Regions from separate parts of the Homo sapiens genome. Here all the other regions are linked to region 1. The links are contacts of gene promoters, found by promoter capture Hi-C in blood cells and fetal thymus (Javierre and others, 2016). All regions are on one chromosome and are shown on one strand. The core of a region is centred on a gene start or on the middle of the fragment in contact, and the rest is flanking DNA. Distances in the headings are between cores, read along the strand shown.

Region 1 (2,988 bases), core at 261-2,760:
TGTTTTGGTTCCTTCTTAACCAAGTTAAGTGAGAACTTCCAAGGGACTTCACAGAAGTAAAAATGCCCCCTAAATAATCAATGGCACTGTTCTTTCGTTTGACAAATATGTATTCACGATCTACTAAGTGCAAGACTCCGTAACCCTGGGTCACTGCAAAGTAGGTATTATCAGGGTTCAACTAAAGAAACAATTGATAGAGGGGCAAATGCAGTTTTAGAGAAGATAAAGTGGGGTGTGGGATTGGTTCAAGCTTCATAATAACGCTGCAAAGGCACAGCTTCCCCTATCAAGAAACAGCAGCACGTAGCAGGGCAAACAAATGTGCAGATGGCTCCAAGCTCTTTATTTAATGTGCACTGTATGACTCAACTATCTGGTCCTATGCTTACTGCTGTGGACTCTTCTCTAAGCTTTTCTTCATTCATTTACTCATTCATTCAACCACTATTTACTGTAAAAGACTCCGTTCTAGTGTGTTGCTGGGAAAACATCGGTGAATAAAATATGCAAAGCATCAGTTTTCCAGGAGCTGACTTGGGGAGGAGGAGGAATAAAACGAGGGAGAAGCAGAGTTCAAGAGACAAATGAATGGGCAGGACATGATAATTTGGGATGGGGACAAGAGCTGTGTGGAAAAAAACAGGATGAGGTTGAGGGGGAGATTACGAACCACCACACTTGTTAAGTATTAACATTACTCCCACCTCCACCCTGAGTTCTCACAGCACTTACCATTCTGCACTGTAAATACCAGCCGGCAGCAGACTTGCAGCCTGCGCGACTATGTAAGCCAAGAGTAATCTGAAAAACTATCCTTTTCCCTTGCCTAGGGGAAATTTACAAACGTAAATATGTGTAAATTAATATACAAGCTAATATACACGTTGACGAACGGACGAAATGGTTGAAAGAACGAACTCGCAATGAACTACAACACTTTCTCCGGTCAAAGTAAAAGCCATTCGCTCCAGAGCCCCAAGTAAGCCACAAGTTGTACATTGTAGGAGACAACAGTCCTCAACAGCAGCTCAGGTTCCAGCACCTCCCTCCGGGCGCCAGAACTACGTCAACACAAATATCACCTGCGGGCGCGAGCTAGCCCAGAAAACCGGTGCTAGAAGGGCCGCTCCGCGCCACCCGGCGGATTCCTGCAACAGAGTTTCGAGGCAAGAAGTTTCGAAGAGGGGGCCACGAACCCCAGCTCTCCGGCCCTGCTCCACCCCCCAAATAGATTTCTCTCCCGCCTCCCGCTTAACTCCGTCGGCGCCGGAGGGATCGAGGCAGGGAAGGAGGCCTACACATGGCCGCCCAGGCCCACAGAGGCCCAAGGGAAGTAGGCTAAGCAGCCAGGCCAAGGAGAGGTTGCGTTTTCAGGGAAAAGGCGTCTCCAAAAGCACTCACCCCAGCGCCTCCAGTGTGTCCAGCACGTCTCCCTCCATCGTCGGTTGGGGACCCGGCTCCGGCCCTCTCATGGTCCTTTGGCCCAGAGCTGTTCGGCGCTCTAAGTAGCCCGCCGGAAACTAGCGTCACCGCGCCAAGGTTCCGGTCCGGGTCTGGCCGGTAACTGCCTGAGAGCACAGCTGAAGAAGGGCGCAAAGGTTCCCAGCCCCGAGGCAATAAACACTTCATAGTGCCTAAAACCGCTGCGTGTAACGATAATAATTTTTTAAAAGAATAGTAGAAATAATAAATAATAGTAATAAAGAGTTCTCTGTGTTGGGACTTTTCTGTGTGTTCAAATAAATTTTAGCAAATATCGTGGTATCGGGTTGATCTCAACCTATCCGATTCCAGACCTTTTTAATAACAGAAATCTGAAATAAAATTATAATTATCTTCAGCTAAAATTAGTAACTAATATCACATGCCTACACATATAATTTTTAAATCAATATACACGACGATGCTTCAACTTGAAGGAAAAAATGAAGTAATTTATAACAAGGTAATATTTTTCTCCTTATGAAATGCGGAAGACCAATGAAGTGATCAGATGCTTGCATCTATCTATGTAGAATCCCCTCAACTGCATATTCAGATGATGTGCTTCATTGCTGACAAAGCATTAGTTGTATAAGCAACAAACATACCGCCAGCAAAGTAAGGTAGTTGATGTGGTTTTCCAAAATTGTGGCGAATTCTCTGTAAAGTTCCAAACAAACAAAACATAATATACCCTCTGTGTACTATCCATGAAGAATTCAATCTCTTATCTAAAGGATTTAAAAAATGTATTTTAGGGTTCATATGTAAAAGGTACTAAGAGTATAAGGTTAGATCATTATTAGCAGGCATGTCACCTACATGAATACTCTAGCAGAACTGTTGGAAATCCTGCATGAAGTATAACTATTGATCCCTTGTATGGACCTGTCCCTTCCATTGCAGACTACATAGCATTCGTAGCCCCAGTCCAATAAAGACCAGTAATGCTCTCGCCTTCCTAATTATGGTTACAAACAAAAAGCATACCCATAAATGTGTAAAACACTCAAAGGTAAGCTGTAGTAGTCCACTCTCATATTGCTATAAAGATATACCTGAGACTGGGTAATTTATAAAGAAAAGGGGTTTAATTGGCTCATGGTTCCACAGGCTGTACACGAAGCATGATGCTGGCATCTGCTCCACTCCTGGGGAGGCCTCAGGAAATGGACAGTTGTGGCAGAAGGGGAAGGGGGAGTGCAGCTATCACGTGGCCGGAGTAAGAGGAAGAGAGAGGGTGCAGGGAGGCAGGGAGGTGCCACACACTTTTTTTTTTTTTTTCAGTCTCGCACTGTCGCCCAGGCTAGAGTGCAGTGGCATGATCTCAGCTCACTGCAAACTCCGCCTCCCGGGTTCACGCGATTCTCCTGCCTCAGCCTCCCGAGTAGCTGGGATTACAGGCGCCCACCACCACACCCGGCTAATTTTTGTATTTTTAGTAGAGACGGGGTTTCACCAGGTTGGTCAGGCTGGTCTCGAACTCCTGACCTCGTGATCTGC
Region 2 (2,988 bases), core at 188-2,687, 470 kb after region 1:
AATGAAGAGGAAAGAAGACAACACTGTTGAAGAATCTTCTATAATCTAGATGTCAGAAGAAGCCACCCACTCTTTGATTCTAAGATTGCCTTGCTCCATCCCCCATTCTATGTTCTGTTCTGTTGTTTTTTTTTTTTCCCTGAACATTTCTACAAATACTTTCTTCTAGTATTTGTGGAATACTTCATTCTATAACTAATGGCTATTTGTTTATCTCCAATCCAGCATTGACCTAAAGTTCAGACATGACTCTTTCTTTCTTCCAAAATTCACTTGTAAGAGTAGTTTAGTCCATTTCTCCTGCTATAACAAAATACCATAGACAGGGTGAGTTATAAACAACAGAAATGTCTCACAGTTCTGAAGGGTGGGAAGTCCAAGATCAATGTGCTGGCAGATTTGATGTCTGGTGAGAGCTGCTTTCTGCTTCCAAGAGGGCAGCTTGTTGCTGTGTCCTCACAAGGTGGAAGAGTGGAAAGGCAAAAAAAAAAAAAAAAAAAAAAAAAAAAAGACAAATGTTCTCTGCAGCCTCTTTTTTAAGGACATTAATCACCTCCCAAAGGCCCTGCCTTGTAACTCCATTGCCTTGGTGATAGGTTTCAATATTTGAAGTTTGAAAGTACACATGCATTCAAACCATAACAACCAGTCAACAAGAAGCAACTTGCACAAGCAAATATCTACAACTATGTGTGGCAGATTTTACTGGATATTGAGGTAATCATGTACTCATGTTGCAGCGCTGTTTAGAAAATATTCTAACATTGAATATTAGCTTTTCTGGTCCTCTGAAAGTCCCTTCTCCATTTCCACCAACTTAGATTTCAGAGTCTCATGACATTGTTCAGCTTTCTCTCCTACTGCTTCTCTGTCTCCCAGTTGTGATAAAAAAAAATCCTTATATTATTATGAAGAGCATTTTAGCTCTAGCACTTACCACCTCCTCCCTCATTCACACTTTGCACAGCTTAAGATTTATTAATGTGCTTTGCTAAAAAAAGCTTCATGTATTTCAAGTGTTACCCTTTCTTCTCTACCCTGCCCCCCTTACTTTTTACAGAAGCATGGAGAGGAATATGAAGCTTTATTTCCCCAGAAGCAACACTTAGAATACGTAAGACTTAGAAGAGTTAGATGAGCAACATGTATCCTCTCATGACCTCAGAAGACATAAGTGTAGTTGACAATCTCAGCACTTTGGGAGACCGAGGTGGGTGGATCACCTGAGGTCAGGAGTTCGAGACCAGCCTGACCAACATGGTGAAACCCCGTCTCTACGTCTCTACTAAAAATACAAAAATTAGCTGAGTGTGGTGGCAGCCACCTGTAATTCCAGCTACTTGGGAGGCTGAGGCAGGAGAATCACTTGAATCTGGGAAGCGGAGGTTGCAGTGAGCCGAGATCATGCCATTGCACTCCAGCCTGGGCAACAAGAGCGAAACTCCATCTCAAAAAAAAAACAAAAAAAAAAACAGTAAAAAGAAAAAAAAGGACTCACAAGACTGGGATCTTATTCTAGCTCTGTCACTAGTTAATTGTGTGATCTTGGGAAAGTACCTCATGGTACCTGAGAAATAATCTCTAAATTTCTTGCCAATTCTATGAGTCTGTGATTTGAGAGTCCCTCTGGTGCCTAGTTCTTCTATAAATGTAGTCAAGGTTGGGGTTTCTCCCTTCACAGGTAGGTGAACTTTCCCCTACCTTGGGCTGTGCCCCAACATCTCCCTGGCCAGCCATCTGCTCAATGCCTGTTGTCAGAAGCAATAGAGATTTTACAGACAGGCCAAGCTTTGGGGCCAGATACAGGCATATATCCTGTTTTTTTTCAACTCAGAACCTAGGTTGTGCTGTTTACTCAGTGAATCTGGCTTATTTGTGAACTGAAACTGCGCATAATGATATCTACCTTAGAAGATTGTGTAAAACAATGATGCACATGAAGCACTAAAGTGAAGTGCCTAGCACATCGTAAGTGCCCATAAATGGAACATTATCATGTTTGTATAAGGGGGAAAGGTGAGTGTCATGGCAAGCACATGACATGCTCTTTCTGGGTCTGCTGACACACTTGCATGTATATGGAAGAATGAACTCAGCTTACTGTACGGATAGCTCCCAAACTTTAGTTTTACTGGGTAGAAAATAAAAGTTAAGAGAGAGAGCTGAATGGTTCTAGGCAGCAATTTATTTTAGGCTACGATGAGGAGGGGAAAGGTAGATTGATTAAAGAGATGGGAAGAGAGAGGACTATGAATAGAAAAAATAAAACATGTCCAAGGGGATGATTCAGTTTCTGCAGTATGATGACTGACAGGCATCCTTTGCCTTTGTCTCCATGAATCATATATAAATATATATATACACACACATATATATATGAAATATAATATCTATTATATATGTCTGTTATATAATATAACTCAATATATTTATATATTATATATTTATATATATTTATATATTATAGATATTTATATAATTATAAACATAGATCATATAACATATGTGTTAATATATTATATCTGATATATATCATATACCTACTATATATCTATATTATATGTTAGATATAATATATAATTATATATTATAAATTATAGTATATATAATATATTAAATAATATATAAACAATTATATATCATAATAATATATAATATCTATTATATATAGATAATATATAATATCTATTATATATAGATAATATATAATACATAAAATATCTATTATATAATAGGTGTTATATATATTTGTATATAATTGTAATATATAAGATATAGAATTATAAAGACATAAGATTATTGTAACCTAATATATGTGGCATTGTGGAGTGAGATCTATCTCTGGCACTTGTCAAAGTGTGAAGTCCTGCTTCAGTGTGCGCATAGGTGTAAGGACAGAGACCTCATAAAGAAATTCACTGAGGATGCATATTCTGAAGATTTAAGGTGGATTAAAATGGTAGGTAGTGTCTCAGCCCTTGGGATTGA
Region 3 (2,988 bases), core at 332-2,831, 450 kb after region 1:
CTTATCAATAATAACATTGAATGTAAATGGACTAAACTCTCCAACCAAAAGACATAGAGTGGCTAATTCGTTAAAAAAAAAAAAAAAACAAGATCCAATGATCTATTGCCTATAAAAAACACTCATCACCTGTAAAGTGACATAGACTGAACATAAAGGGATGGACAATTATATTCTATGCAAATGAAAATGAAATGAGCAGGAGTAGCCATATTTATATCATACAAAATAGATTTCAAGACAAAAACTATAAGAAGAAACAAAGAAGGTCACTATATATTGATAAAGGGGTCAATGCAGCAAGAGGATATATAAGAATTTTAAATGTATATGCACCCAACACTGGGGCATCCAGATATATATAACAAATATTATTAGAGCTAAAGAGAGAGATAGACCCCAATACAATAATAGCCAGAGACTTCCACATCCAACTTTCAGCATTGGACATATCTCCTAGACTGAAAAGCAACAAAGAAACATCTGACTTAATTTGCACTATAGACCAAGTGCACCTAATAGATATTTACAGAACATTTCATCCAATGGTTGCAGAATACACATTCTTTTACTCAGCATATGGATTATTTTCAAGGATAGGCCATATGTTAGGCCACAGAATGTCTTAAAAATTCAAAATAATTGAAATAATATCAAGTATCTTATCTGACCACATGGAATAAAACTAGAAATCAATAACAAGAGGAATGTTGGTAACTGTACAAACACTGGTAAACAGTATGTTTCTGAATGACCAGCAAGTCAATGAAGAAATTACGAAGGAAATTGAAAGTCTTCTTGAAATAAATGATAATGGAAACACAACATAAAACTTTTAGGGTACAGCAAAAGCAGTACTAAGAGGAAAGGATATAGCAATAAGCACCTTCAAAGAAGTAGAAAAACTTCAAATAAATAACACAATTATACATTTTAAAGAACTGGAAAAACAAGAGCAAATCAAATTCAAAATTAGTATAAGAACAGAAGTAATAAAAATCTTAACAGAAATGAATGAAATTTAAATAAAAATACACAAAGATCAATGAAATGAAAAGTTTGTTTTTTGAAAAGATAAACAAAACCGAGAAACTTTTAGCCAGATTAAGAAAAAAAGAGAGAAGACCCTAATAAAAAAAATTCTGAGATGAAAAAGGAGACATTACAACCAATACCACAGAAATTCAAAGGATAATTACAGGCTACCATGAGCAACTTTATGCCAATAAATTGGGAAACCTAAAGAAATGGTTAAATTCTTAGACAAATACAACCTACCCAGATTGAATCATGAAGAAATTCAAAACCTGAACAGACCAATAACAAGTTACAAGATCGAAGCCATAATCAAAAGTCTTCTAGCAAAGAAAAGCCTTGGACCTGATGGCATCATTGCTGAATTCTACCAAGCATTTAAAGATGATCTAAAACCAATTCTACTCAAACTATTCTGAAAAATTGAGGAGGGGGAATACTTCCAAACTCATTCTACATGGCCAGTATTACCCTGATACCAAAATCAAAGACACATCAAAAAAAGAAAGCTACAGGCCAATATCGCTGATGAACAGTGATGTAAAAATCCTCAACAAAATACTAGCAAACCAAATTCAACAACACATTAGACAGATCATTCAGTATGACCAAGTGGGATTTATTCCAGGGATGCAAAGATGGTTCAACATATGCAAATCAATCAGCATGATACATTATATCAACAGAATGAAGGACAAAATCATGATCATTTCAATTGATGCTGAAAAAGCATTTGATAAAATTCAACATCCCTTTATGAAAAAAACCCTTAAAAAACTGGGTATGGAAGAAAATACCTCAATACAATAAAAGCCATATGTGATAGATCCACAGCTAGTATAACACTGAATGAGGAAAAACCAAAATCTTTTCTCTAAGACCTGGAACATGACAAGGATGTCACTTTCACTATTGTTATTCAACATAGTACTAGAAATCCTAGTTAGAGCAATCAGACAAGATAAGGAAATAAAGGGCCTGCAAATTCAAAAGGAAGAAGTCAAATTCTGCTTGTTTGTGGATAATGTAATCTCATATTTGGAAAAACCTAAAAAATCTGCCAAAAGATCTGCTAGAACTAAAACATATTCATTAAAGGTACAGACTGCAAAATCAACATACAAGAATCAGTAGCATTTCTATATGCCAACAGTGAACAATCTGAAAAGGAAATCGAGAAAGCAATTCCATTTACAATAGCTACAAATAAAATAAAATACCTAGATGTAAACTTAACCAAAGAAGAGAAAGATCATGATAATTAAAACTATACAACACTGATTGGGCCAGGTGTGGTGGCTCACGCCTGTAATCCCAGCACTTTGGGAGGCTGAGGCAGGCAGATCACCTGAGGTCGGGAGGTCAAGACCAGCCTGACCAACACGGAGAAACTCCATCTCTACTAAAAATGTAAAATTAGCTGGGCATGGTGGCGCATGCCTGTAATTCCAGCTACTAGGGAGCCTGAGACAGGAGAATCGCTTGAACCTGGGAGGTGGAGGTTGCGGTGAGCTGAGATTATGCCATTGCACTCCAGCCTGGGCAACAAGAGCGAAACTCCATCTCAAAAAACAACAACAACAACAACAAAAAAAGAAAACTATAAAACACTGATTAAATAAATTGAAGAGGACACAACAAAATGGAAAGTTATTTCGTGTTCATGGATTGGAAGAATCAATATTGTTCAAATGTCCATACTACCTAAAGCAATCTACAGATTCAATGCAATCTCTATCAAAATACCAATGACATTCACCACAGAAATAAAAAAAAAATCCTAAAATTTATATGGAACCACAAAAGACTCAGAACAGTCAAAGCCATCCTGGGCAAAAAGAACAAAACTGGAGGAACTTCATTGCTTGACTTCAAATTATACTACAGAGCTATAGTAACCAAACTATATGATACTGGCATAAAAACAGACACAGAGAGCAATGGAATCAAATA
Region 4 (2,988 bases), core at 198-2,697, 440 kb after region 1:
AGTCCATAGAACCACAGCTGGGCATGGTGGCTCAAACCTGTAATGCTAGTGCTTTGGGAGACAGAGGCTAGAGGATTGCTTGAAGCCAGGGATACAGGACCAGTTTAGGTAACAAGGCAAGACCCCGTCTCTATGAAATTAAAAAAAAAAAAAAATTAGCCAGACATAGTGGCACTGCCTGTAGTCCCAGCTACTCAGGAGGGTGAGGTGAGAGGACCACTTGAGTCCAGGAATTTGAGGCTGCAGTGAGCTATGATTTTACCACTGCACTCCAGCCTGAGTGACAGAGTGAGACCCTGTGTCTTAAGAAAATAGTGAACTCTAGTATAATGTACCACTCTAGTGGGGGATGCTGACAGTGGGGGAGGTTGTGAATGTGAACGGGTAGGAGGAATATGTGACTTCTCTGTACTTTCAACTCAATTTTGTTACAAACCTAAACCTGTTCTAAAATGTAAAGTCTATTTACAAAAAAAAGGAAAATTGAAACTTCTGATAAACTGACCTATATTTTCCTTAGAAGAATTAACCAGAATTTGTATTATCCCATCCATGCAAAATAAATATTCTAGTTAGCTTTTACTTCCCTTTTCCTTGTTACTTGAGATTGAAATTACTAAGAATTTTAGTTCCAGATTGCTTCAGTTTTAGAAATATTATTAACTTCTATTTTAGTCATCTTTTTCCTAACAGTGCCATTAAGTTTCACAACATTATCTGCAATCATTTTGACTCAAGGATTTTACTGATTTCTTTGCCCACTACTATTTTATTGGTTTAGTTTCACATCTTCCTCTTTCTTGAATTCTTCACTATGATTTATTTTTCATTTTACAGAAGTCATTCTGGGGGCTCTTTTATTTCTCTCTCAGAATATATGGGTGGTATACTATCTGAGTCATTGCATATCTGAAAATATTCTTTACCTCCATACTTAGTGATAATTTTGATTGCATATTGAATTTAAGGTTTAAACTACTTTTCCACATAACTTCATAAACAGAGCTCCATTGTCTTTTAACATCTAGTGTTGTATGTAAGAAGTTCCATGCCCATCTAATTTTCATTTCTTATGCATAAATTGTTGTGTTTCTCTGGAAAATTAAAATATTTTAATTTTAATCCTGGATTTTGAAATCTGTATGTAAAAAAAAAAATAACATTACTGCTCTTCACTTACTGAACCCTTTTAATCTGAAGATAGAAAACTTTAGATCAGGGAAATTTTCTTTATTATTTCTTTGATTATTGCTTTCATTCATTTTCTCTATTTTTTTCGTTCTTCATCTCCTGTTACTATATGTGGAATTTTTTAGACCTATCTTCCATATCATTTATCTTTAATCATTTACATCTCTTTTTTTTGCCAGTTGGGTAGAATTCTATTACTTGTTTTTACAGGCCAACAATTTTTATTAATCTATTTTCATTCTACTATTTTGCCTCCCACTGAAATTTTACTTTTAAAGTCATGTTTTTAATTTCTAGAGTGCACTTGTTCTCCAATGGCTTTCTTTTTTGAAACCAGATTTCTTCATTTTACTAATTAATGGCCACTTAACTCTCTCTGAGGACAATAATTTTAAAAATTTCTTAAAGTTGTCTCCTATTTCTTGCTTTAACGCTCTTTACTTAGAGTTAAGTCTTCAGCTTAGTTATGTTGGTGCCCTTCTCTTAGCCTGTTGACTTTCTTCTTTGTTGTCTATTACTGTTTACCAGTAAAGGCTTGCCTTGATTAACGATGGTATCAAGTGTGGGTTTCTTCAGAATTTGTGAATGTCACTGATACACAGCCCTAAGCAGGTGTATTAGTCCATTTTCGCACTGCTATAAAAAACTACCTGAGACTGGGTGACTTATGAAGAAAAGAGGTTTGACTTATAGTTCTGCATGGCTGGGGAGGCCTCATGAAACTTACAGTTGTGGCAAAAGGCAAAGGGGAAGCAAGGCACATCTTCCCATGGCAGAGCAAGAGAGAGAGAGAGTGAAGGGGGAAGTGCCACACGCTTTCAAACAACCAGATCTCATGAGAGCTCGCTCACGATCACAAGAACAGCAAGGGGGAAGTCCACTCTCATGATTCAATCACCTCTCGCCAGGCCCTGCCCCCAACATACAGGGACTACAATTGGAGATAAGACTTGGGTGGGGACACAGAGACAAATCATATCTGCAGGCCTCCTTGCTTTTCAGATGACTGCCTGCGGTGCCCTCTGAGTACCCTTACTCAGATGCAGTGAGTAGGTGGGCACTTCTAAAAGCTGTGTTTTCTTCTAGGATGTTTTAATGGTAAGCAGACTGACAGAATAGGAGCCCCTCAACTGAGGAAGCAGGAACTTCTTATGATGAAGACAATGCTTTAAAAGCCTTTCCTGTACCACTGAGTGCTTTTTTCCTTTTCCTTTTCTTCCATTATACCGATCTAAATTTGAACAAGGCACAGCCATTTCTCTGGCTCCTCTCCGGCAGGCAGGTTACCATTTTTGTTAGGGAGTTGCTTTGCACAGAGCAGGATTCTGGCCCAGCTCCTGCCATATTTCTAAGACCCCACGCACTCCCATGCTTCCATGACCCACTCCTGCTTCTCGGAGATTTAAACTTTTCTGAACTCCGTTAGGAAACCAAACTATGCACTCCTCCATCACCCCTCCTTCTTTACTAGTATTAGGAGGCAGAAGTTTTGGCAATTAACTTATAAATTAATTTGATTCTATATGCTTTTATAATATCCAGAAATTCCTTAAGTTTCTGGTCATTTGCAGAAGGTTTCATTGCTTTCACAGGTGCTGTATATTTATTAGTATTTTTTTATGTCAGTGAAATTTTAGTGGAAGCAATGCAAAGAAAAAAACTTGAACTCAGTCCACTATCTTCAGTGGAAGACCCCTGGCCATATAAATACAGCCGTATCCTCTCTCTCTCTGTCTCTCATTCTGTGTCTCTCTTTCTTGCACTCTGTCTTTGTGATCCAGTGTTCATAATCTGTTC
Region 5 (2,988 bases), core at 233-2,732, 410 kb after region 1:
TGGACATTTTGTATAAATGGAATCATGCAAGCTGTGGTCCTTTGTGACCGGCTTCTTTCTTTTAGCATAATGTACTTGAGGTTCATCCATGTTGTTGCATGTCTCAGCATTCCATTTCTTTTTATTCCTGTTTAATGTTCCATTGTATGGTTATACCACATTTTATTTCTCCATTCATCAGTTGACAAACATTTGGCTTGTTTCCACCTTTTGGCTATTATGAATAACACTGCTACGAACACTCACATACATGTTTTTGCACGGACATATATTTTTATTTCTCTAGGGAATGTACCTAAGAGTAAACTTACTGGGTCATATGGCGACTCCGTTTGCCTGCAGAAGAATGGGACTGTGATTCCTAGAGAATGCCTCCAAGACTTGCAGCCTGGGTGACCGCTTCAGTGTCTGTGGAGCCCTCATGGTCAAGACGCCATTGTGGAAGTTGTAGCAGGATGGACCTTAAGTATCCCCATTGTCCCAGCCTCCTGATGTTTACTTCTTTGTCATATCTCCTCCCTCTGACCTGGGTGGGGACTGTAACTTGCTTCTGACCAATTGAATATGAATGGGACGTCACTTTGTTGATTATGTTACATTACATAGGGCTCTGGTAGACTGGAGACTCTCCTTGTGCCTTGATGAAGTACACAGCTATGCTGGAGAAATCCATGTGGCAAGGAACTGCAGGTGGCCCCTGGAACCTGAGGACAGTCAGTGAAGAGCTGAGGCTCCAGTTATGTAGCTGCAAAGAGATGAATTCTGTCAACAACTGGGATGAACTTGGAAGTGGATTTTTCCCTAGTTGAACCTTTGATGAGAATGTGGCCCAGCTAATGCCTTGATTGCAGCCTTTGAAACTGAGCAGAGGACCAGCTAATTCGTGCCCAGACTTCTGACCCACGAAGACTGAGATAATAATATGTGGTGTTTGTGTAGCTAAGTTTGTGGCAATTTGTTATGCAACATTAAGAACAGTCGAGAATTTGGTTCCATTATATAATCTGGGCTGGATGCCACTGAGTTTACTTGTCAAGGCAAATATTCTGTTTACTTATCAGTATGATTATCACAAAAGATAAACTGCCATGGAAGTTCAAGTATGTGCTTGGTTGCTATAGAGTAATCTATACCTGTGGGGTATACTCTAGAATGAGAAAATAGGGATGGCAGAAGTAAGAAACAGAGTTCCACTCTGTCTGCTTGACTCATATAGGAGTCTCTACAAATCCTGTTCCAAAAAGAGTCACTAAAAGATCAGAACACAAGAGGAACGATAACTTATGTAATGAGAGCTACTATTTATTAGGGACTATGGGACTGAGAGGATATGCATGAAATTGAGGCCATGCCCTAATATAGCTTATGTTATACTGTAGTTATAATTTACTTAGCTCACTGTGAAGCTATAATCTTGAACTTAACATTCGTTTTCTCTTACACTTCTTTAGCCAAATAATAGCAAAACAAGCCCAGCCTGGTGAACACCACTTCTATTTTTGGAATTTACTTAGGATGATTCCATTTTTCTTAGTCATCCATATCTATATTTAACAGCCCTACACTCAGAATTTTAACTTATAGCTTATTTAAATCTATTAAATTAAATCTATTCTATTAAAACCTGCATTTTTTCCACCTGCCTCTAGACAGATGGAAACAGCTGATGATGTGAATCTCTTGACTGTCCTTGTCATATCATTTTGTCTTGTTACATTTAATTCCTGACTGACTTAAGTGAGGAGAGTAAGGTGGATCTTATCCTGTAGCAGAGGGATACATGTGGAATGTCCTCCACTTCCTTGGTGATCTGACTTTAATTTCAAGCACTGTAGAGATGACTCAGTGTGCAGTAACTAATATGAAAAGTCGTGCTGCTTATAACATACAGTGAGTAACTATTACCAGACTCACCTCAGATGACTTGGAAGTTTCCTAGTTGGGAGAATGAAGCAATTTAAAATTGATGGGAAATGAATGTCTGAAACCCAGTAGAGTAAAAGTTTCAAGCATCACTGAAATTTTCATCTTCCGAGGCCGGGTGTTGTGGCTTATGCCTGTAATCCCAGCACTTTGGGAGGCCGAGGTGGGCAGATCATGAGGTCAGGAGATCGAGACCATTCCTGGTTAACATGGTGTAACCCCATCTCTACTACAAATATAAAAAATTAGCCGGGCGTGGTGGTGGGTGCCTGTAGTCCCAGCTACTCGGGAGGCTGAGGCAGGAGAATGGTATGAACCCGGGAGGCAGAGGTTGCAGTGAGCCGAGATCGCAGCCACTGCACTCCAGCCTGGGCGACAAAGCGAGACTCCGTCTCAAAAAAAAAAAAAAAAGAAATTTTCATCTTCCATATCTCATACCAGTAGATACATAACAAAGCAAAATTTTGTTCTGCTGAGGATAGAATCAACTGTGGTTCCCCTTATATTTATTTATAGCAGTGCCATCGTCCCATCATAGGAAACAGAGATGAAATGGATGGAGTAATATTTTATGTGATGTACTTCATAGAAGAGTTTTGCTAGGAAACAAAGATTACTTGGACACGGTAGGAACAGACATTTCTATGAACAGGGTCTCATCACTTTTTTTCTATATCTATAAAAGAAAATGTATAATTACACTCTGATGGAGCAAATAGGATGGTGAGGAATGTTTATATTTACATAGTTGATTTCATTTACTTTAACAATTATTGTTAGTATTTTTTTTTTATTTTTTTTTTTTGAGACGGAGTCTCACTCTGTTGCCCAGGGTGGAGTGTGATGGCGTGATCTTGGCTCACTGCAACCTCTGCCTCCCGGGTTCAAGCGATTATTCTGCCTCAGCCTCCAGAGTAGCTGGGACTGCAGGCATGTGCCACCATGCCAGGCTAATTTTTGTATTTTTAGTAGAGATGGGGTTTCACCATATTTACCAGGCTGGTCTCGAACTTCTAACCTTGTGATCTGCCTGCCTTGGCCTCCCAACTTGCTGGAATTACAGGC
Region 6 (2,988 bases), core at 154-2,653, 410 kb before region 1:
TTTCATGATGAACCACAGTCCCTGGCTGGGACTCAAGTTGCATCTTTCAGCCCTCTACCACCATCACCAGCTGCACTACAGTGTCCAGTATTTTCCTGTGTGCCCGTGGTCCCCATTCCAAGCTTCCTCCCATGTGCAGGGACACAGGTTACCCATTGCTGGACTGCTCCACATTTAATTACCTAGACAGAGAGCTTGCACATAGAAAGTGTTCTATAAATGTTATTTATTCCATCTAAACTTCCCACTAGCAAAGTAACCACAAAGACAGGAACTTGCCTTAGTTGTTCAGATGTGGCCCTATCATGAGATCTATGGTTAGCCCATAGTAGCCAATGAAAAAGAATGGCTTTTGAGTGAATGAATCACTGAAGATTCATTCTAGCCTTTATTTCAAGAAGATGTGGGAATGTAATCCTTTGCTGTTCAGCAAAAATGCTAAACTAGAACCAGGAACTACAGACTTGGAGTGCCTCTTTTTATTTAAGAGACTCTTGGGAGACACCACCTTATGTACCCCCACAAGCTAGATGTTCTTCCTATTCCAAATAAACTACAAGGATGAATACTGTACCATCTTACTCAAAGCCAAAACAGCCCTGGAAATATGTTTTCCAGTCTAGTTAATCAGAAAAAGGAAGGGTGTACATAGTCATGTGGAGTGTTTCAAGCAGATAATTACTCTTCTATGCATTTTCTCAATGCCAACGTGTACCAAAATGACAGTTATTTCCTTTGCCCAGAAACTCCAGTTCTGAAATATTTCACATAACAGAGCATTCCTCCCCATCTCATCTCTCCCTACCAACTGTCTGAAGTTCTTTGACAATGAGATCTTAGCTGGAGCCTTGCAATGGAAGAGTGCTTGTTCACTGATATATCAATTTGGTTACTTTGAAGACATTTAAATAGAAATTTTGATGTACCAGATATTTCTCTACAGAATTAAGAGAAAGTTGAGAAAAGTTTCAATATGATAGGGAATAATGGAGTAGACTGGTTTTTATAGATAAGCCTAATCCTTCTTCATCCATATGTAATTCCCAGTTCATTACCTTCCCAGGCTCATCAACCTGCGTTCTACCAGTAAATGCATGCACTGAGGAGCTTAACTATCTGTCTGCCTTGGGTATGAATTGGCCACAGATACACGGGAATACGTATGATGTAAAGACAATGCTGAATTACCATGATATTCATATAGCAGACATGTTCACAGGTATTAGTAAGAAGGTAATAAAAAATAGAAGATAGTTTATTATGTTCCAAGAAGGGTGCTAGATAATTTATATATAATAGTCTTATCTCACTTACATTTTAATCATATAAAGGTGGCATTCCTATTTTAGAAATTAGAAATTGAAAAGGGCTCAGAAAAAAAAGTTCCCTGTTTAATATCCCACAGGATTTGAGCTTTAGGATCTTTGCTTTGAAGAAAGGAAATTTGTGATACTAGTAGATTAATTTCTACTTCCACTGTACCCATAAAGGCATGATAGCAAGAGTGAATTGTGCTTTAATTTTTTGTCTTTATGTCTACTCCATAACCAGGTTTATCCCCTTTCCTGCTTTATTTTTCTTCATAGCACTGAGTCAGTTGGGGTTAAACCAGAGAACCAGAACCAATAAAGGATGACATGAAGTTTGCTGCAAGAGATTGGCTTAGGCAATTGTGGCAGCTGCATAAATAAGTCCAAAATCCATAGGTCAGGCCAACCATAAGGGCAGGCTGGAACTCCTGGGCATGGGCTGAATCTGTTGTCTTACACATGAATTTCTCCTCTAAGAGGAGCCTCAGTCCTGCTTTTAAGGCCTTTCAAGCTGACTGAATCAGACTCACTCAGATTCTCCAGGATAATCTCTCTTAAAATCAAGTGATCATGGACTTAAATTACATCTATAAAATACCTTCACAGCAACATCTAGATTTGTGTTGGATTGGATAATTAAAGGCTATAGTCTGTTCAAATTGACACATCAGAAAGACCACCATAACCTGATATATCTTACTCATTTATATTTATTGTTTATCATTTCTCTTCCCACACTAGAATGTAAGCTCTATGAGAAAATCAACTTTTTGGGTTTTGTTTACTGCTGTATTCCTCAGCAGCTAGAACACCATCTGGCATGTGGTAAGCAGCTGATAACTGTGAAATGAATAAAGAATTGAATAAATGAACAGCTTTCTTGCCAGGAAGGGCCTCCCCTCTCCATATTGGGTCAAACACCCAGCACAATTCCCAGAACAGAACAGGTAGTCAGAATTGTTTTCAATTAATTAAAACCAGCTGGTGACCCACATGCTTTCTATAGAATTCCACATCTCAGGAATGGCTGGTGTGGTGGAGACAATGGGCATAGAGGGCCAGTTTTACTCACCTGATATTACCAAGGTGAAGAGGAAAGGCTGTGGGCACCATCAACACCCCTGCTGGGGATTGTGGGAACTTGGGATAGGAAGAGATGCAAACACCATTGGCAGTTGTTTGGAGTGATTTCAGGAACAGTTCAATATAGCATTGGCTGAAAGGAAGTGGGAAAGATCACAGAGTGTGTGCCGCTTCTGCTTCTGTTTCTGGGTGACTGCATAACAGGAAAGTAACTGTCTTGCACAATCAACCCAGATGATCCAGAAACAACGGGAAAAATGTTCATGAGCCCCTGAGGTGAAGCAAGCTTCATTTTCTATGACCCCTGAAGGAAATGGGCATCTGATATAATTGGGTTCTTTCTTTTGGAGGCCCAAGGCTGTGAGACTCCTTTTCCTAACCGCGGTGGGGTATTTTGATTTACAGCTGGGATGATAATTACATGTACCATTCTTTTAACATGGAACATGGTTCCTCCTTTTTACCCTTAAAGAAGTAAAAGTTTTCCTACCAAATCTGTCATTACCAAGTGGTATTTTCTTCTTCCCAATACATGCTTCTTCCCAAGGCCTACCAGTCTGCCAACTCAGCAGACGTATGGAAATGTGGGTGTGGG
Region 7 (2,988 bases), core at 305-2,804, 370 kb before region 1:
AACCCCAGTTATGTCACTAGCTCTGTGACATACACAAGTTTCTTCTCTCTCTGTCTCTGGGAAGCTTCTCACTATGAAATTCTTATTTCACAGAGTTGGAATAAATGAAAGCACTTTATAATCTGCCATTATTTGAACCACTCAACCCAGACATATAGTCTGAAGTAAAAGATGGAAGCCACAGACAATAAGAGTTATATCTGTATGCAAAATGATGGCACTCTGTCAGCTAAAGACCCTGGAGAGAAGACTGAGTTCACACGTAAAGGTTCCTTTTATCTTTAACTGAAAGAGGTAGAATCCAGCACATTTGTGAAGGAGCATGTTTCCTGTTTAGAGTTGCCCTGCCCCAGAGCCACACTCTCCACCTTAGCCCTTTTTTCAGAGGGTAATGGTCAAGAATGAAGGTGCTTGTGCATTAATCCTGACACAACCATTTACTGTCTGGATGACTTAACATCTTTGGGCCTCAGTTTCCTTACCTGGAAAATGATGCTAATTATCCCTACCTCATAGAGTTGTGAGGATTAAAGAAGTTGATGTTTATCAAGTACTTAGAGCAGTCCCTTGCAAATACAAAGTGCTTAAAACACATTGGCCATTATCTTCTCACAGTCAATGTTTCTATAGGAACAAAAAATTGGCTTGTGACCTCAAGGTAATTTGCCATAACATGATACAGACTGCCCCAGCACTCACTGCCAGTGCCAGAGAAGAAGGATGGCCCCATTTGAACTTGGGAAGTGGCTATTCTGAAGAATTAGAATCTCTTGCCCAGAGCATGTGGCTGAGAGGCAGAATGTGAAGCACCTTATTTATTTCATCTGGGCTTTCTCATGTTTACAGGGAGCTGGCATTTCTCTGTCATTCAAAAGAAGGAAAAAAAAAAAAGTCAACGATTGGTCATTCTATTATCAAAGAAGATAACATTTTATCAACTTTTCTTAGATATCTCACATATTCTTCCTTCCAAAAGCACTTGAAGCTTAATTTAGTCAATGACTGGTCAAAGGGAGAAAAGTGACCATTACAATTTGTCATTCACCCAATAATTGTAATCAAAGTAATAACAGCAATAATAGTAATAGTTAACATTTATTATATACATATTGTGGACAACGTTTTATCGTAAGTACTTTACAGAGAATATCTCATCGTAAATCTTCCAAAAACCCTAGGGGATATTATCCCCATTTTACAGAAGGGAAAATAATCCCCAAGTTTCCTAATAACAGGATATCAGGGAGATTTCAATAGAAGAGTCAAGCCAACAAAAACAAATTCAGCAGACAATGGAAATTCTGTTGGGAAATAACACCCCCAGTGGCTCTATCACTCAGCACCAAGAACACCTCCAATGACTGTATGAGTTTCTAGCAACATGGTAACTTTCAGTTCTCGGAAATGTCCAAACAGAGAGCAAGTCATGTGAAAAGATACTTAAGATTGAGCCACTTTCCATTCCTTGAAAATTTAGATCTATGCTTAAAGTTTGCTTCTAGCCTGTCTATATTAGTAGGAGTTGTATTCATCAAGTTGTTTAGAAGTAGTGTTTGTTTAATCAGGGCTTTTTGATGTACAAAGCACTTTTAATTCATTATCTCATCTGATTATTTTCAATGATGGTGACAAATAGAAGTCTTTGTTGCCATTTTATACATAAAATTGAGGCTTAAAATGTCCTCAAGCCCCAGAACTGGATACCAAAACCCTGTCTTCTGCCTCATGTCCCATCTTATGCTTTCATCTTTCAATAAGATGGAGAAGCGAGATTCGTGCACAGGGTAAAATTTTGTTTCAGCACCACACACTAGATACCCAACTAGATCAAAGGATTAATAAGAGCATGTCACCAGCTGGGGATAGATGTATCAAACAGAGATCGTGGGTTAACTGGTATTCAGATTGGGCCAAACACCTTCAAACTTTACTGCAAACAGTTAACAAAATCACAGTGGAATATAGATGCTTTTTATGTTCCAGAAAACAGTCTTTGGACCACCTCAAAAGAAATTCTGTCAAAGCTGTTTTTCTTCTTTAATCCAGGTTGGCTAGTAGCCAAAGAAACAAGGTCTTCATTGCCCACTTCAGTCCTCAACATTTCAACTGAAAAGGGAAGCTTAGGCATAGTGCTTTATAAAATACCATCGGGTGATTAGGGCTTAGAGACATTTCCTGACGTCTAATGGAGATAAGGAATGAAGGCTCCAGAACCAGTTGAGGTACAATTCACTCCCCTGATAGCTAAGCAGAAAAAGAGCTAACACTGGAGTCACCCAGTTTCCCTCTGGAATGTCCCTCTGAGTTTGAGGAAATTCATGTCATCACCTTCCCACCATTCAATAGTCATGGTTATTAGTGGTATCCAAAGATATTCAGAGTCAAATTTAGGTCACATGGGGCCAAACAATGGAATTCCTGCTCTCAAGGACAGAGGAACACTCTAATTTCATTTTCACGGTCAGCATACACGCAATTTCCACCCCAGACATTTGTTGTCCAAAACACTGCCTAAACTTGAGTGCTATGATGTGAAATATATATCTGAAGTTCTGTGGCCTCTTCAGGGGACTGGGGTGTCACCCTGCTTGGCTTCTCTGATCAAAAAAGACTTTCAGCCCAGAGAACCCCTGGCTTCCAACTTGAGGACAGATCCCTAGAAAAGCCCTGGGCCCCTTTTGGATGTGGTACTGTGTAAGGTGAGAGCTTCATTGGAGTTAGAACTTAGGACTCTGAACACTTCACAGCTCAGATCATGGTTTCTTTGGATCTAGAGCAATTGGGAGAGGTGTAGAGAAGGGGCAAAGGGGACAAATTCAGCTCCTGGAAAGAACTGCCAAGATCTCAGAATAGAGATTTTTTTTTTTAATGCCTCAAGGAAAGCACAAAAAAGAAAGCATTCATCACTTCTGCAAGGAAACCTTCCCTAATTACATTGAAATAAAAATACCCTTCCTCCGGCAACCCCCTCTGCCATTCCCCTTGAGT

Evidence for each region. Contacts are between HindIII fragments. The CHiCAGO score rates a contact against its expected background, and 5 or more counts as called.
Region 2: a fragment that was not itself captured here is called in contact with the fragment with the promoter of FAM98B in region 1 in 3 of 17 cell types (M2 macrophages, M0 macrophages and M1 macrophages); the score reaches 6.6 in M2 macrophages.
Region 3: a contact is called between a fragment that was not itself captured here and the fragment with the promoter of FAM98B in region 1, in 4 of 17 cell types (M2 macrophages, M0 macrophages, M1 macrophages and 1 more). The highest score is 14.0, in M2 macrophages.
Region 4: a contact is called between a fragment that was not itself captured here and the fragment with the promoter of FAM98B in region 1, in 4 of 17 cell types (monocytes, M2 macrophages, M1 macrophages and 1 more). The highest score is 7.0, in monocytes.
Region 5: a fragment that was not itself captured here is called in contact with the fragment with the promoter of FAM98B in region 1 in 1 of 17 cell types (monocytes); the score reaches 5.0 in monocytes.
Region 6: a fragment that was not itself captured here is called in contact with the fragment with the promoter of FAM98B in region 1 in 2 of 17 cell types (naive CD4 T cells and non-activated CD4 T cells); the score reaches 6.0 in naive CD4 T cells.
Region 7: a contact is called between a fragment that was not itself captured here and the fragment with the promoter of FAM98B in region 1, in 1 of 17 cell types (naive CD4 T cells). The highest score is 5.1, in naive CD4 T cells.

What each region holds. Positions count from the first base shown.
Region 1 is chr15:38,452,649-38,455,636 of GRCh38, reverse strand. It overlaps FAM98B (family with sequence similarity 98 member B), which reads right to left and starts at 1,510. Exons shown (of 8, transcript NM_173611.4): 1 at 1,405-1,510. The coding sequence starts at 1,475. RefSeq lists enhancers at 1,093-1,192, 1,253-1,362. The HindIII fragment of the contact is 3,660 bases long and covers 416-2,988 here.
Region 2 is chr15:37,982,204-37,985,191 of GRCh38, reverse strand. It overlaps a transcript of TMCO5A not described here. Among named protein-coding and RNA genes, the nearest start is that of TMCO5A, 49 kb to the right of the region's middle. The HindIII fragment of the contact is 706 bases long and covers 1,085-1,790 here.
Region 3 is chr15:37,998,537-38,001,524 of GRCh38, reverse strand. It overlaps a transcript of TMCO5A not described here. Among named protein-coding and RNA genes, the nearest start is that of LINC02345, 40 kb to the left of the region's middle. The HindIII fragment of the contact is 3,508 bases long and covers 1-2,988 here.
Region 4 is chr15:38,016,941-38,019,928 of GRCh38, reverse strand. It overlaps a transcript of TMCO5A not described here. Among named protein-coding and RNA genes, the nearest start is that of LINC02345, 22 kb to the left of the region's middle. The HindIII fragment of the contact is 5,690 bases long and covers 1-2,988 here.
Region 5 is chr15:38,037,753-38,040,740 of GRCh38, reverse strand. LINC02345 (long intergenic non-protein coding RNA 2345) reads right to left here and starts at 348. Exons shown (of 4, transcript NR_120330.1): 1 at 312-348. It also overlaps a transcript of TMCO5A not described here. The HindIII fragment of the contact is 9,617 bases long and covers 1-2,988 here.
Region 6 is chr15:38,860,053-38,863,040 of GRCh38, reverse strand. No RefSeq gene overlaps it. Among named protein-coding and RNA genes, the nearest start is that of LINC02694, 160 kb to the right of the region's middle. The HindIII fragment of the contact is 2,557 bases long and covers 125-2,681 here.
Region 7 is chr15:38,827,665-38,830,652 of GRCh38, reverse strand. No RefSeq gene overlaps it. Among named protein-coding and RNA genes, the nearest start is that of LINC02694, 130 kb to the right of the region's middle. The HindIII fragment of the contact is 1,134 bases long and covers 988-2,121 here.